3 separate regions of the Homo sapiens genome follow, and regions 2 and 3 are each linked to region 1. Evidence: promoter capture Hi-C in 16 types of primary human blood cells and fetal thymus (Javierre and others, 2016). All regions are on one chromosome and are shown on one strand. Each heading gives the region's core, a stretch centred on a gene start or on the middle of the fragment in contact. The rest is flanking DNA. Distances are from core to core; before and after follow the strand shown. Region 1 holds the start of MICU2 (mitochondrial calcium uptake 2). Region 2 holds the start of CPAP (centrosome assembly and centriole elongation protein). Region 3 has its middle 3.3 kb from the start of NUP58.

Region 1 (4,430 bases), core at 1,089-3,588:
AGCCCAGGACTTTACAGCTGATGATGAAGAAATGAACAAAGCTGGAGCCCAAAAAGACCAATATAGTCAATGTGCTTAGACAAATGTCAGCAGCTGCCAAGGAAGATTTCATACTTAGAATGGTTATTCGACTAGAGATTGGTTCTATTATAAGAATTTGTTTCCTCTGCATAAGAAAAGTTTGAATACATTAAATTATAAGTGAGAGTTCTAGATGCCTGGGCACATAATGAAAATTTAAAAAATAACTAATTACACTGTTTTCCAAGTGGGTTCAAAGATTTTTGGCAAAATAAAAAGAAGCTTTTGTTTTGAAAATAAAGTACCCCAAAGGAATAATATACTTCTGTATTTTGGATGGCCAAAGCATAGAAATATGAACCCCTGAGTTTCATTTGTGCCATTTATTTATTCACTTATTTACTCACTCATTGAATGTCTATTACGTGCTGGGCATTGTGCTAGGTGCTAGAGAAACAGGGAAAAGGAAGACATCTCACCCACAAGGATGTCAAATTGTGGGAGAAAGACAATGTTCTTAAATATGCTACATGTTTTAATGGGAATCTAAACTTATCTTGGGCTTAAGGCAATACTGAGTAATAGATGCCAGGTTTCATTAAATACCTAGAGGAACTGTGTGAGGCAGTTAGAAGTATACACGTAAAGACTGTGGTTTCTGGAAATCAAGAATAAACTACAAGGTAAGACATCCAGGGTGTCCAAAATATCCTGGAAGTCCTATTATCACCAGGAAACAAGCTAGATGTCAATAGTCCAGAAAAGCAGGACATGTGCCAAAGCTACCAGAGTTAGCAGAGGTGAAAAACAGTCCAGAGGTTGACAAAGTCAGGCTAGATACAAAAAAGCAGGAAAATCTCAGGTTAAGATGGGCTAGTGATCTGGAATCATGGACATTCAGTCAAGCTCATTTGTGTTCACAGGGCAGAAGTAAACCAAACCTTGACCACAGTAAACGCACATCTGTCATGAGCCTACCATGTGCCAGGCATTTGGCTAGTCACTTTATATAAAATATCTCATTTAGCTTCCCCACCCCAAACTGTAAGAGGGTTGTTCACAGATGAAAAAATTGAGACTCAAAGAGATTAAATACCTTACCCCAAATAGCAGTGATCATCTACCAAATCGTGAGTTATTTACAAATGAGAAAATGGAGACTCAGAGAGATTAAATAATTTGCCCCAAACCACAGTGATCATCCTGGTAGAGCTAAGATTCAAACCTTGAGGTCTGGCTCACAAGTCGGTGAAGTGAGGCTCATCTCTCTACTTCCTACCTGGGAAGGCACACTGAAAAGTAAGTCCAGAAGCTGACGGAAAAGTGAGGAACCTCTGACTGCAGATTAATTTAGACAAGCGGGCTAAGAGAAAGGGAGCAAGGATTAAGGGCAGATAATAACAAAGGGATCCACGGAACTTCCACTGAATGATCAAATTAGATTTCGTGTGACAGGTTTTTGTTTTTGTTTCTTGAAGTTTTGTTTTGTGCAAAACTTCAAGACAGCAGTGATTATGTGATTAGGAGTCTTGGCCCCTTTGATGTTGGCTCCGTTACTGCATGCCCAACTAAAGCTTCTAATAGCTGGGGACATTTCAGAGGCTGAACAAAGAGTTTATTAAAAAGAGTTACTCAGGAAAAGTGAAGACCAAAGAATGGAGGATTGGAGGCTGTTAAATAAAACCAAGTAGTCTGCCTCAGCTACATCACTTATCACCAATGCAACAGCCAGGACTGGAGGTATCGTTCTAAATCTGCACTGGGGAAAACCTCTGGGTCCCTGATGATAGAGACATGGGGCTGGTGTGCTGCTGTCTCTGACTTTTAGTTCTAGGTAGGATAAGAGCTACTATCAAACCTTTTGTTGAAACTGAATTTAAATTCATTATAAGCAAATAGTGAGGGACTGAAATAAACAGAATGCCTTGTCTGAGAGTTGTTTTAGCAGAAATGAAAGAACAGTCAAGACTATAAGCATAGGAAGACATGAACAACACAGATGCAGAAGAGACTATTTCAAAAAACGTTTCACAGTTTTACAAGGTGAAAAAATGAAAAGGAGAAACCTGCCCACACAACCGAGGGCACTATCTTGTTTTGGACTAGGAAGTCATATTATACTGTCTTGATACTCTTCCTGTCATCCCATCCCCACAGCCTTAGAAGGCAGCCCCGGAACCGAAGGCCACCTCTTGCGGCTGCGAGCGTCGCCTCAGCAACCGCACCCACGGCGCAGGCCCGGTAGGCGGGGCGGAAGCCTGTCGGATGTCGCGAGAGTTCCCAAGCGGTAGGCGGCGGCGCCGGGAGAGAAGCGCCGCCTAGCTGCGCTTCCGCAAAGATGGCGGCGGCTGCGGGTAGCTGCGCGCGGGTGGCGGCCTGGGGCGGAAAACTGCGACGGGGGCTCGCTGTCAGCCGACAGGCTGTGCGGAGTCCCGGCCCCTTGGCAGCGGCAGTGGCCGGCGCGGCCCTGGCAGGAGCAGGAGCGGCCTGGCACCACAGCCGCGTCAGTGTTGCGGCGCGGGATGGCAGTTTTACAGTCTCCGCACAGGTACAGGACTAACTCCTTCTGCTAGCCCCAGTCAAGCTCCTCCCTCCCCTGACGCCCTTAGGCGGGGAGTGGTTTGGCTCTGGGCGGCTCTCCCGGAGCCGTGGGTGGAGGTGCCGCTGCGGATCGGAGCGCCCTGCGACTGGTGGGACTCGCTCCTTCCTGGACCGGCCCCCGGCCTGAGTCCCCGAGGGCCTTCGAGGCTGGTGACCGGAGATTCTGCCTCCCTTGGGAGAACCCCGCGGACGCTGAACACCACGGCCCACAAAACTGGCCGCACTAATTTAGTGGTGATGAGTGTGGGCGTGTCTTAATTCGAGGCTCCTAATTCAGAATCTCACTGCGCCTCGCCTCTTGCTACCTCTCTGGTCAGTGAAGTGGCATTCACATCCGCAGGTGGTTTGCGTCCAGTTACCCCTGTGGGATATACCTTTGTTAAGCTTTGCAACTAAGTTTTACGATCTTTTCTTTGTATAGCATGATGAAGTTCTGTCGATTGCTTTTTTAAGTCACGAATGTGTCAGCCACAAAAATTAACCAGTTGATTTCCAGATTTTATTATCAACTTTAAGGAACATTATTGCATGATTATAAACCTTAATATCTTAGTGGACCATAAGTTCTAAGCAAAAATTGCTCCTAAAACCTCCATCTATTAAAGACAAGAGTCCGCCGGGCGCGGTGGCACACGCCTTTAATCCCAGGGCTTTGGGAGGCCGAGGCGGGTGGATCTCCTGAGGTCAGGAGTTCGAGACCAGCCTGGCCAACATGGTGAAGCCGCTCCCCACCCCAGCCCCGCCCCCCCGGTCTCTACTAAAAAATATAAACAATTAGCTGGGTGTGGTGGCGGGAGGCTGAAGTAGGAGAACCGCTTGAATCCGGGAGGCGGAGGTTGCAGTGAGCCAAGATCGAGCCATTGCACTCCAGCCTGAGCTACAAGAGCGAAACTCCGTCTCAAAAAAAAAAAAAAAAGATTCAAGTTCCCTATTTCAGGATAAATGATGTTGTAACGCATTTGAAAATTTGAATGAGTAGTGCTTTAAAATTTTTGTAGACTTAGTAAGTTTTTACATATGAGCTTTTTTGAAAATTGAAAGTAGTAGTTTATTATTTTCTTTTTTAGATTTACATTATGCCTTTCTAGCGAAAAACTCAAGGAACATTCAGATACAACAAAAAAGAGAGGAAAGAAGGCCTTGTGAGTTAAAATTAAGTATTGGCAACTGATATTCCTTATTTGTATTAACATACATTATAATTATATTGTAAACATATATAATGGAAAGATCTATTATCTAGTGTTTTTATAGCATTTTTGTGAATCTTGTGCCAAGGAGTTCAGTGTATTCATCATTAGTTTCTCTCCCCTAGATTCATCCTGGTTTTTTTGTTTGTTTTTTGTTTTTGTTTTTGTTTTTTTTGAGAGGAGTCTCGCTCTGTCGCCCAGGCCGGACTGCAGTGGCGCTATCTCGGCTTACTGCAAGCTCCGCCTCCCGGGTTCACGCCATTCTCCTGCCTCAGCCTCCCGAGTAGCTGGGACTACAGGCGCCCGCCATCGCGCCCGGCTAATTTTTTGTGTTTTTAGTAGAGACGGGGTTTCACCGTATTAGCCAGGATGGTCTCGATCTCCTGACCTCGTGATCCGCCCGCCTTGGCCTCCCTAAGTGCTGGAATTACAGGCGTGAGCCACTGCGCCCGGCCGATTCATCCTGTTTTTAAGACCCTTAGGTTAATCTTCTCCGGAGTATCACTTTAACCACACAGTGTACCCTTCTTCAGAAACCCTTCTTCAGTGTCTCATTTTGCCAAGAGTAAAATGCACTTTTTTTTTGTTGTTGAGATGGAGTCTCTGTCACCCAGGCTG
Region 2 (4,722 bases), core at 1,255-3,754, 3.3 Mb before region 1:
GAGTGGACACTTGCTACCATCAGACCAGCAATGAAAAGCTGTCAACTCTTTGTCACTCAGATCAACTTTGATTAAAAGAATTATTACCAGCCAAGCACAGTGGCTCATGCCTGTAATTCCAGCACTTTCAGAGGCCAAGGTGAGAGGACTGCTTGAGCCTACGAGTTAGAGACCAGCCTGGGCAACAGAGTGAGACCCCTGTCTCCAAAAAAATAAATAATGAAAAAGAATTATTTCCAAATAATTTGGGAATACAATAAGTATTATTCTGTGTCTGGCACAGCATTTGACAAGACCCACAGAGCTAGGCTTTGGTAGACAAGAGTTCACCAACAGTTAAATTCTTTATAAAGATGAAAACACCTCCTGTTCATTGACTTTTTACTATGTGGAGGTTTTTTGCTACTTTTTCATACATAGTCTTTCTTTTAATGTAATCTTCTTGACAGTCCTATGAAGGTCTCATTATTATCCACCCCTGTTTTGCAGATGAGAAGACTGGTTTCAGAAAAGTTGAGTGCTGAAGACTACAAAGCTGTTTGTAAGTTATCAAGCTAGGATTTGATCCCAGGTCTGCCTGATAAATCCTGGACTCTTAACCATGACATAGGAGTGCCCTCTTGACTCCTATGATGGCATAAAGAATTGTATCAGAACGGGTAATCTGGCATTAAAACCCCTGTGCCACAACCGTTAGTCTAATTTTTCTCTACAGCACCATCTGAAGATGCAACAAGGATAGGAACCACTGATAAGGTAGAACATTTTATTGTCTGGCAGAGTAGAAGATGGAAGTTCCTCCCCACTAGCCTTTCCACCTTGTAATGGATTTGAACCCTTGAAGCTTAGTGGGCAGTTTTGAGAATTACATGGGCTACAGGTGAAAACTTACACATTATAACCTTAATTTAACAGCCAGTTAAGACTTGAGTGTGGTAAAAGATTCATTTATTTATTCAATCAACAAACAATGTGGCACTACATACTATATTAAAATAAAAACATACGAATAAAATATAGGCACAAAAATAGAGGATATTGCGACTATCCTTAAAGATACACATTTTAGGAAGAATGATGAGACTTTTGGGCATGCTTTCAAGCCAAAGGGCTATCATAAATGAAAAGGAAGATTGTTTGGGTCCTTGTCTGGCATCTTAAGTAGCTGTGTGATCTCGGAAGTCTCGGGCTTTAGCTTCCTCACCCACAGTGAAAATTAAAAAGAAAAATTGGGCCGGGCGCGGTGGCTCACGCCTGTAATTCCAGCACTTTGGGAGGCCGAGGCGGGCGGATCACGAGGTCAGAAGATCAAGACCATCCTGGCTAACACGGTGAAACCCCTTCTCTACTAAAAATAAAAATAAAAAAATTAGCCAGGCGTGGTGGCGGGCGCCTGTAATCCCAGCTACTCGGGAGGCTGAGGCAGGAGAATGGCGTGAACCCGGCAGGCAGAGCTTGCAGTGAGCGGAGATCGCGCCATTGTACTCCAGCCTGGGCAACAGAGCGAGACTCCATCTCAAAAAATAAAAATTAAAAAAAGAAAAGAAAAATTGAAAAAAGAAGCAAAACCGAAATCTTGATTTAGAGAAGTAGACTCTTTTTGAAGTAGAAAGCAAAACAAATTTTGGAGGACCAAATTTCTGTGAAATAGTTTTGTCTTTAGCAGTCGTTTGTTTCAGTTATAACGGTTATAAATGGCACTTCATTTGATTTCTTTAAACATTTTACTTGGCCTGCTGTTTAATCAGACATGGAAGCCAGGTATGTAGTACTGTGGTAACTCACGGTGCTGTAACTTCCTAGATTAAAGGGCCGTGGCAGTTAAAACGAAACAAAACAAAAAAATTTCTTGAATTCTGCACTGTCAGTATTCAAACTAGTTTCAGAATCTAATGGACACACTCTGCCAAACCACCGATTAGCCATTTGAGGAGAGATGAAAGATGCCTATTTTTGGAGTGAATTCTCATAGGGTTATTTTCGTCTTACGAAATGGTGTAGCGGACTGCCCTTTTTCTCCTTTACTAAGTCACCTCAGCCAAAGCGGAAAACAAAGAAAAAAACCAAACCAAACCAAAAAAACGACAAAATAGACCGTACGCAAATAGAAAAAAAAAAAACAAAACCCAAAACACCTCCTTTAAGCGTCGGTTGGGCTCTATGTTAGCTTTGACTCTCCGTGCTCCCTGCTTTGCTGGGAACACGGAGATCCATCGCTCCGTTAGGCGTTCCCTTTAGTTTTCTAAGTGTGGGAGCCTGGGGCGACGTCCACCACGGAAGGTCTCTCCCGGAAACGGTTTTCCGCCCCGCCACGCCGCCCGCCTACGTCGACCACTGGCCCGCTGCTGGTCGGAAGGCGGCGCGCAGTCCATCCCCCGCCGGGCAACGCCCGTCGCTGTGGCGTCACTGGGAGTTGTAGTTTCACTGGGCTCAGCGGTGCCTGCGCTTTAGCGCAGACGCGCGGGTGAGATCCTCACTTCCCACAGGACCTCGGGACGGGGGCGGGGCTCCGACAGAGGCGGCGATTGTGGCGGCCCATTTGTAAATGCTGCGGAGATTGAGGTGTCGGTTCGTGCTGCTGAGCTGCCCAGGCTTCACGGAGCGGTAATTTGTGGGCGAAAAGAGCGGAGGAGCTCTTTGTCCGCCGCCCTGCGCCGGAGATGGACGGCGGTGGGCGGGCAGGACTCTGCTCGGACCTCGGGGTTGGCTCGGCGGGGCGAGGAGGGAGCGGGGCGCCGGGACGCGCTCAGGCCCACGGGCGCGCTGAGGCCCACGGCAGTTCAGTGGCTTCGTTCATTCGCGCTGCTTTGTTCTTCGCAGAGCTGGGGAAGCCGGCCTCTCTGGGGTGTCTGTCTCTCTGACCTGGCTGTGGCGGAACTTGAGTTCCTGTGGGCAGCGCGGCAGCCGCAGTCCGCTGGAGCAGGGTGGTGAAGTAGCGTTGCTGGCTGTCCTAAGGGCCGGTCTTGCCCCAGCTTTGTCAAGGGCTTCTCTCTTGAAGCTTCGTGTGGATTCATGGCTTTCAAGAACGTGTTGTATTTTAGGGGACTGCTAAATCACTTCCCAGACCAACTAGTTACTTCTCACGGTCTAAGAGTGGCTTTGAATTTGCTGTTTGTATCCACTCTCCTCCCTCACCGTGCAGAGAATTTATCTTTTTTTCAATACTGCTTTAAAGAATGTTTACATAGCACTTTCTGGAGATTTCAAGGCTGTCAGTTTGTTACATTTTTTAAAAGTTTTATTGAGGTATAATTGCTATACAATAAAAATGGCACATGTTTAAATGCATTCCATTTGATGAGTTTGACATACACGTGCACCCGTGTCCTTCAGATTTTGATATCTGTAAAGTCTGAGTCCACATACTAATCCTATCTCGGCATATATATTATCAATGCTCCCTTTACCAAGACCTCAGTATCAATAATAAGTAGCAGGTTCTGGTGACGCTTTTTTTATACTTCATGCTGACATTAAATATATTTTTAGAATCGCGGTCATGAAATTGAAGGTATAGAAGGTGTGTTTGGTGGGGAGTTGGAGGAGGAGATGCAAAAGTCTGGCTGCTGCATCCCAAGACTGCTTGCACTTGTCAGTCTAGTAGGGAATTTTTCTAGTTTTCCATATTATGAAATGACCTTGTAGTTTGTCTCCCTTCTGAATTTGGATTTCGAAAGATTTTCTGCTAAGGTCATTGAAATTAAGCAAAGTTACGTGGTTGATTTTGAAAAAAAAAAAGTCATTACTTTTTTAGATTGGTTTCCTACTGAAAAACAATTTGCTTAGAAAAAGTTTTTACAAATTATTCAGGAATAACAGATATCCAGTAAAGTGCGCTAATCTTAAGTGTACAGCCTAAGTGTATCCACCCCCTGTATTAACCTTCCCAGTTGTTGAAGTCAAAAATTTGGAGATGAATCTCTTAAGTTTAACGTTTTATTTGGGAAGAAAGAATGGCGGTTCCAGGCGTACAGACCAGGTGGTCTTCAGTATGTCCAAAGAACAAAGAGAAAGCTGGAGGTTTTATAAAAAAGAGAATTGTTATATCTGTCGCTCTTCGAGAAAGTTCATTGGTTCTCCTAAGGTTCTGGGGAGGCAGCAGGTCCTACCGAGTGGGCCATGGTGGAGGGCAAAATTAGTCCTACAATTGCAGCAAGTTACCTCAGCATCTATAGATCAAATTGGTCTCGGGTTACAACCGGCAGTTTCAGCATACTGACTTATAGAGAATTCCATTCTTGGAGCAAAGTTGTGTGTCCTGAGTGCCTTTCCCTCTTGACTTCTTGATTGTTTAGTTGGCTATAAGAATGACTCAATTTGTATGATCAACTTTCACACAGACAGGACAACTCCCATTTTCCTGGATAACGACCAATATGCCATTTATAACTATGGGTTTATTTTGCCTGTTCTTCAGCTTCATATACATGGAAACATGGGCCAGGTGCGGTGGCTCATGCCTGTAATCCCAGCATTTTGGGAGGCTAAGCCAGGTGGATCACTTGAGGTCAGGAGTTTGAGAACAACCTGACTAACATAGTGAAACCCCGTCTCTACTAAAAATACAAAAAAAAAAAAAAGCCAGGTATGGTGGTGCATGCTTGTAGTCCCAGCTACTCTGGAGGCTGAGGTGGGTGAATCGCTTGAACCCGGGAGGCTGAGGTTGCAGTGAGCCAAGATCACACCACTGCACTCTAGCCTGGGCAACAGAGTGAGACTCCA
Region 3 (4,644 bases), core at 932-3,431, 3.7 Mb before region 1:
TGTTACATTACTCCCCCAAATGGTTTTCCTACTCGTGATCTCTAACAAAATCCATCCCATAAGCAACCCCCGGATTTATGATCTAAAAAGCCCAGTGGCTCTTTAGTTTGGCACTTGATGACCTCCGTATGATTAGTCTTTCTAACCTCATCTCACAGTTCTCCCTAATTCAGTACTTTAATCTTCCGTTGAGCTTGGGCATTGCCACCAGCTGTGGACTGAACTATTTCCCTCCTCCCCCAATCCATATGTTAAAGCCCTACCCCACCCCAATATGTTGGTATTTGGAGATGGAGCCTTTGGGAGGTAATTCAATTTAGATGAGGTCACCTTGGTGGGTCGCCCATGGCGAGATTAGTGCCCTTATGAGAAAAAACAACGAAGAGCTTGTTCTCCTCTGTGTGCCATGTGAGGACAGAGCAAGAAGGGGCTTTCACCTGGAACCCAAACTGCCCCATCTTTATCTGGGACTTAGCCTCCAGAATTGAGAGAAGTAAATGTCTGTTGTTATAGCCACCTCAGTCTATGGTATTTTGTTGTATCAGCCAAGCAGACTAATACACCACCTCTGTGTTTGTATAATTAAAAAGAAACGTACATTTTATTTTGTTTTTTAAATTTAATTTATATTTTACTTTATTTTGAGACAGAGTCTCGCTCTGTTGCCCAGGCTGGAATACAGTGGTGCCATCTCGGCTCACTGCAACCTCCGTCTCCTGAGTTCAAGCGATTCTCCTGCCTCAGCCTCCCAAGTAACTGGGATCACAGGCGCACGCCACCACGCCCGGTTAATTTCTGTATTTTTCAGTAGAGATGGGTTTTCACCATGTTGGCCAGGCTGGTCTTGAACTCCTGGCCTCAAGCGATCTGCCCACCTCGGCCTCCCAAAGTGCTGGGATTACAGGCGTAAGCCACTGTGCCCGGCCATAACATTTTAAACGTCATAGAAGTCATAATGGGAATGATAAAAAAGAAAAAAGGGATATATTTGGATTAAGATATAAATAAAAACTTCATAGTTATCGAACAGGAGGCAAAAATAAAAGATTGTTGTGAGTTTTAAAGCTTCGGTGATATAGAGAAAGCTATTTTCAGTGATGGCTATAGGGTGGTCAGTAAGAGGATTGTTCACATAAAGTCTAGGAGACTTCCTTTTGACTGAAAAAAAAAAAGATCCTGATGATTTTTATGGGAAGATAGAAAGGCACTCCCTATGTCTTTTGATTTTCTCGTGTATTCTTTCCAAAACTATTGAAGAATACCAACCTACAATTAGTAATAGCAAAATGGCTGGCACTTAAATATATAATAATGAACAAGACTTGTAATATTCACAGGAAAGAAAGAACATGTAAAAATATCATAGGGACTAATTTCCTAATAGGGGAAACTGGGTGTGAGGAATATGAGCACACTATGTAATAATTCTGTAAATCTGTAACTTTTTTTTTTTTTGGATGGAGTCTCACTCTGACACCAGGCTGGAGTGCACTGGCTAGATCCTGGCTCACTGCAACCTCCGACTCCCTGGTTCAAGCGAGTCTCCTGCCTCAGCCTCCTAAGTAGCTGAGATGACAGGCATGCGCCACCATGCCCAGCTAATTTTTGTATTTTTAGTAGAGCTGGAGTTTCACCATGTTGGCCAGGATGATCTCAATCTCCTGACCTTGTGATCTGCCTGCCTCGGCCTCCCAAAGTACTGGGATTACAGGCGTAAGCCACCGCGCCCAGCCACATCTATAACTGTTTTGAAGCTGAACGTTTATAAAAGAAATAAAGGAAGTCTGACTTAGATTAAAGTTTGGGTTTTGGGGGAAGCCATTCCAATTAACAAGCAAACTATCCTTTCAACTTTATCAAAATTTTAGTGTAGCATTTCTTGCCTTGTATCTGGCAGAATATTTTAAGTTATACTACATAATAAATCCCCAAATCACTCAAGGAGGAGCACTGCAGAGACAAAATCTGGAATATCTGATGAGCAGTATTGCAATCTACCACTAGATGCACTAAGTATAAGACTAAATCTTGGAGACCCCTTCTCATCTCATATACCTTGTGCCGCTTGTCCTATTAGTGAAGAAAGAAATTACATCCTTACATTCTACAGAAATGAAACTCCAAAGAAAGCAGCTTTCAATAAGCTCAATGGTTTGGTTAGTGAATGGAAAACAGTAAAATAGCAGTAACTGAGCATTACGCATACATAAGTCTGAATCCTATCTGCAACTGAGCAGAACCATGGAGCACTGGAATCTGGCTTAACCTTCCTGACCTAGTCTAGGTAGAGTAACAAATCCTATCCCAAAGGATCTTCTAAATATTACGCTTTTTAACATTAGAGGACTTGAACCTATGTGTCAGTTCTATGTGAATTGCTGCTTCCAGGGATGAAGCAAGTGCTTCAGATTCTAAATTCTAGAGTAGGCCATCTTGTCTTTCCTTGCTTCTTATATTGTAAGCATTCTGTTAGAGAACTGCATCTTTTGCTGATTTGCCAGCAGGATGATGACATTGTTAATGTCATAATCAAACTGAATTATCCAAACAGAAATAGCACTGTAAAAAATTTACTTTTTTTTTTTCTTCCTTTTTGAGACAGGGTCTGGCTCTGTGCCCAGGCTGGAGTGCAGTGGCACCATCTTGGCTCACTGCAACCTCTGCCTGTCTGGCTCAAGCGATCCTCCCACCTCAGCCACCCGAGTAGCTCGGACTACATAAAGGTGTCCACCACCATGCCCGGCTAATTTGTTTATTTGTAAAGATGGGTTTTCACCGTGTTGCCCAGGCTAAAACTTCTAATTTGTGTTTGCATTAACATATCTAAAATAGGTTTGCTTTGGTGGGGGTGTTCAGATCAGGATAACCATTTGAGAACCTCTCTCAGCAGCGGTTCTAAGACAGAAAAGAAGTGGGAATCTGAAGTCTATTGAAAGGAGTCTGTAATATCTCCAGTTCTGGTCCTCTGAAATATCCAGAAAAGAGGTTATCTTTTAGAAATTACATGTAACCATTTGCCTTCAATCACAGTCTTTATCTTGAAAATTATTCTCAGAAAAGGTCTTAAATATTTTAGGGTTTTAAATATTTGAGTAGTGTCCTTCCACTTTAAAAATTCATTAAGTTCTCAAGTGATTGAACAACAGCAACAACCAAATGTATATAGAGAGATAAATCAATAATGCAAATTATAGGATGACTGTCAAAACAAGGTATATGGGTGTTCATTGTAATAATTTTACAACTTTTCTGTAGGTTTGAAATTTTCAAACTACAAAGTTAAGGGGGAAAAGCTTAAAGTTAAAACAAAAGTTCCCAATCACAGGTCAGAACAGTAATTGTCTATTTCCTGATGAATTTTTTCACTCATCACCCAATAAATGAGAAAAATAAATGTAAGGAGTTATCCATAAAGCTAAATGTATGTAATTCAAACTATAGTCATTTATTTTGAAATACACCCTTCCTATTGGCAGAGATGGGACCTGAAAAAGTTGCTTTTATGACTTGACAACTTTAGTGGATAAGGAAGGCTGAGAAGAGAAACTAAGCAATGTCAACATAAGATAAATGATGGACGCTGTCTTCTGGCCACCAATATTTATTCTTTCCTTCCTTCTTCCTTAAAACCTCAGTTTTCTCCAAAGTGGCAAACTAACCAGATAAACAACTATATGTCTCCAGCTTCCTCTATAGGTAGAGGTGGGTAGGAAACATGAGATGAGACTTCCAGAATCACTCATTTTCTTGGGGACAGATAGCTGGCATACATCTGTTTTGACTTTCTTCTCCTTTCTTCCTACTACCTGGAACTTAGACACAATGGCTGGATCTCCAATAGCCATCTTGGTCCATGAGTGACTTTAAGAATGGAAGTCATATGCAAAGGAGGGTATCACAAAAAAATAGTATGAGCTTAGGTCGTGATGGTATACTGTAGAGGCACCATACCAGCCCTATACTACCTACCTTCAGATTTCTTTTAAATGAGAGAAAAGTCTATTTGTATGTTATTTAGTCCATTAGAGCTGAATCTTTATTATTCATAACTAAATGTAATATACCTTTTTAGTAGGAGTTCACCCCAAAAGATGAATTTTACATGCGTTACTGAGGAAACCTAGGAAATATCCAAGATTGACAGAAGTCAATAATATATATAGGGCTGGAATATAACAATAAAAATGCCACCAACAACCTATTATGTAATTGCCTTGAAACACGCCAACAGAAAGGCAGTGGTCAACATGTAGTCTCAAAAAAATGGGAGCCAAAGAGGAACAATATATCTGCACTTATTGCTCTCACCTTTCATGGAAACAAGTCATTGTGCTTGACGGATACACATATTCTGGTCACTAGACAGATGTCCACCTCCATGAAGCAGGAGTATATTCATGTCTTTTCCATGTCATGGATAAAAGTTCCTTAAGCCTGCCCAATTCCCTTTGCTCTGAGCAGTTTCCCCATAATCTAATTAGACCTCTTTTATTGCTAAGAATAGGAACTCTCTCAAGGTAGTTCAAGCATAAGTGTGTGCATATATGGGGGAGGTGTGGGAACACAGAGTTATTGTATAGACACAGACAAGTTTCAAGGGAATCCAGAAAAACAGGAGTAGCCAAGCTTTGTGTATATCAGAAA

Evidence for each region. Contacts are between HindIII fragments. The CHiCAGO score rates a contact against its expected background, and 5 or more counts as called.
Region 2: the fragment with the promoter of CPAP here is called in contact with the fragment with the promoter of MICU2 in region 1 in 4 of 17 cell types (total CD8 T cells, total B cells, naive CD8 T cells and 1 more); the score reaches 7.7 in total CD8 T cells.
Region 3: a fragment that was not itself captured here is called in contact with the fragment with the promoter of MICU2 in region 1 in 2 of 17 cell types (fetal thymus and total B cells); the score reaches 6.6 in fetal thymus.

Annotation. Positions count from the first base shown.
Region 1 is chr13:21,602,078-21,606,507 of GRCh38, reverse strand. MICU2 (mitochondrial calcium uptake 2) reads left to right here and starts at 2,338. Exons shown (of 12, transcript NM_152726.3): 1 at 2,338-2,569. The coding sequence starts at 2,360. RefSeq lists enhancers at 2,155-2,224, 2,006-2,624, 2,625-3,244 and a silencer at 2,395-2,604. The HindIII fragment of the contact is 1,411 bases long and covers 1,598-3,008 here.
Region 2 is chr13:24,920,643-24,925,364 of GRCh38, reverse strand. It overlaps CPAP (centrosome assembly and centriole elongation protein), which reads left to right and starts at 2,504. Exons shown (of 17, transcript NM_018451.5): 1 at 2,504-2,604. RefSeq lists enhancers at 1,557-2,458, 2,459-3,360. The HindIII fragment of the contact is 2,154 bases long and covers 847-3,000 here.
Region 3 is chr13:25,295,996-25,300,639 of GRCh38, reverse strand. No RefSeq gene overlaps it. Among named protein-coding and RNA genes, the nearest start is that of NUP58, 3.3 kb to the left of the region's middle. The HindIII fragment of the contact is 2,228 bases long and covers 1,068-3,295 here.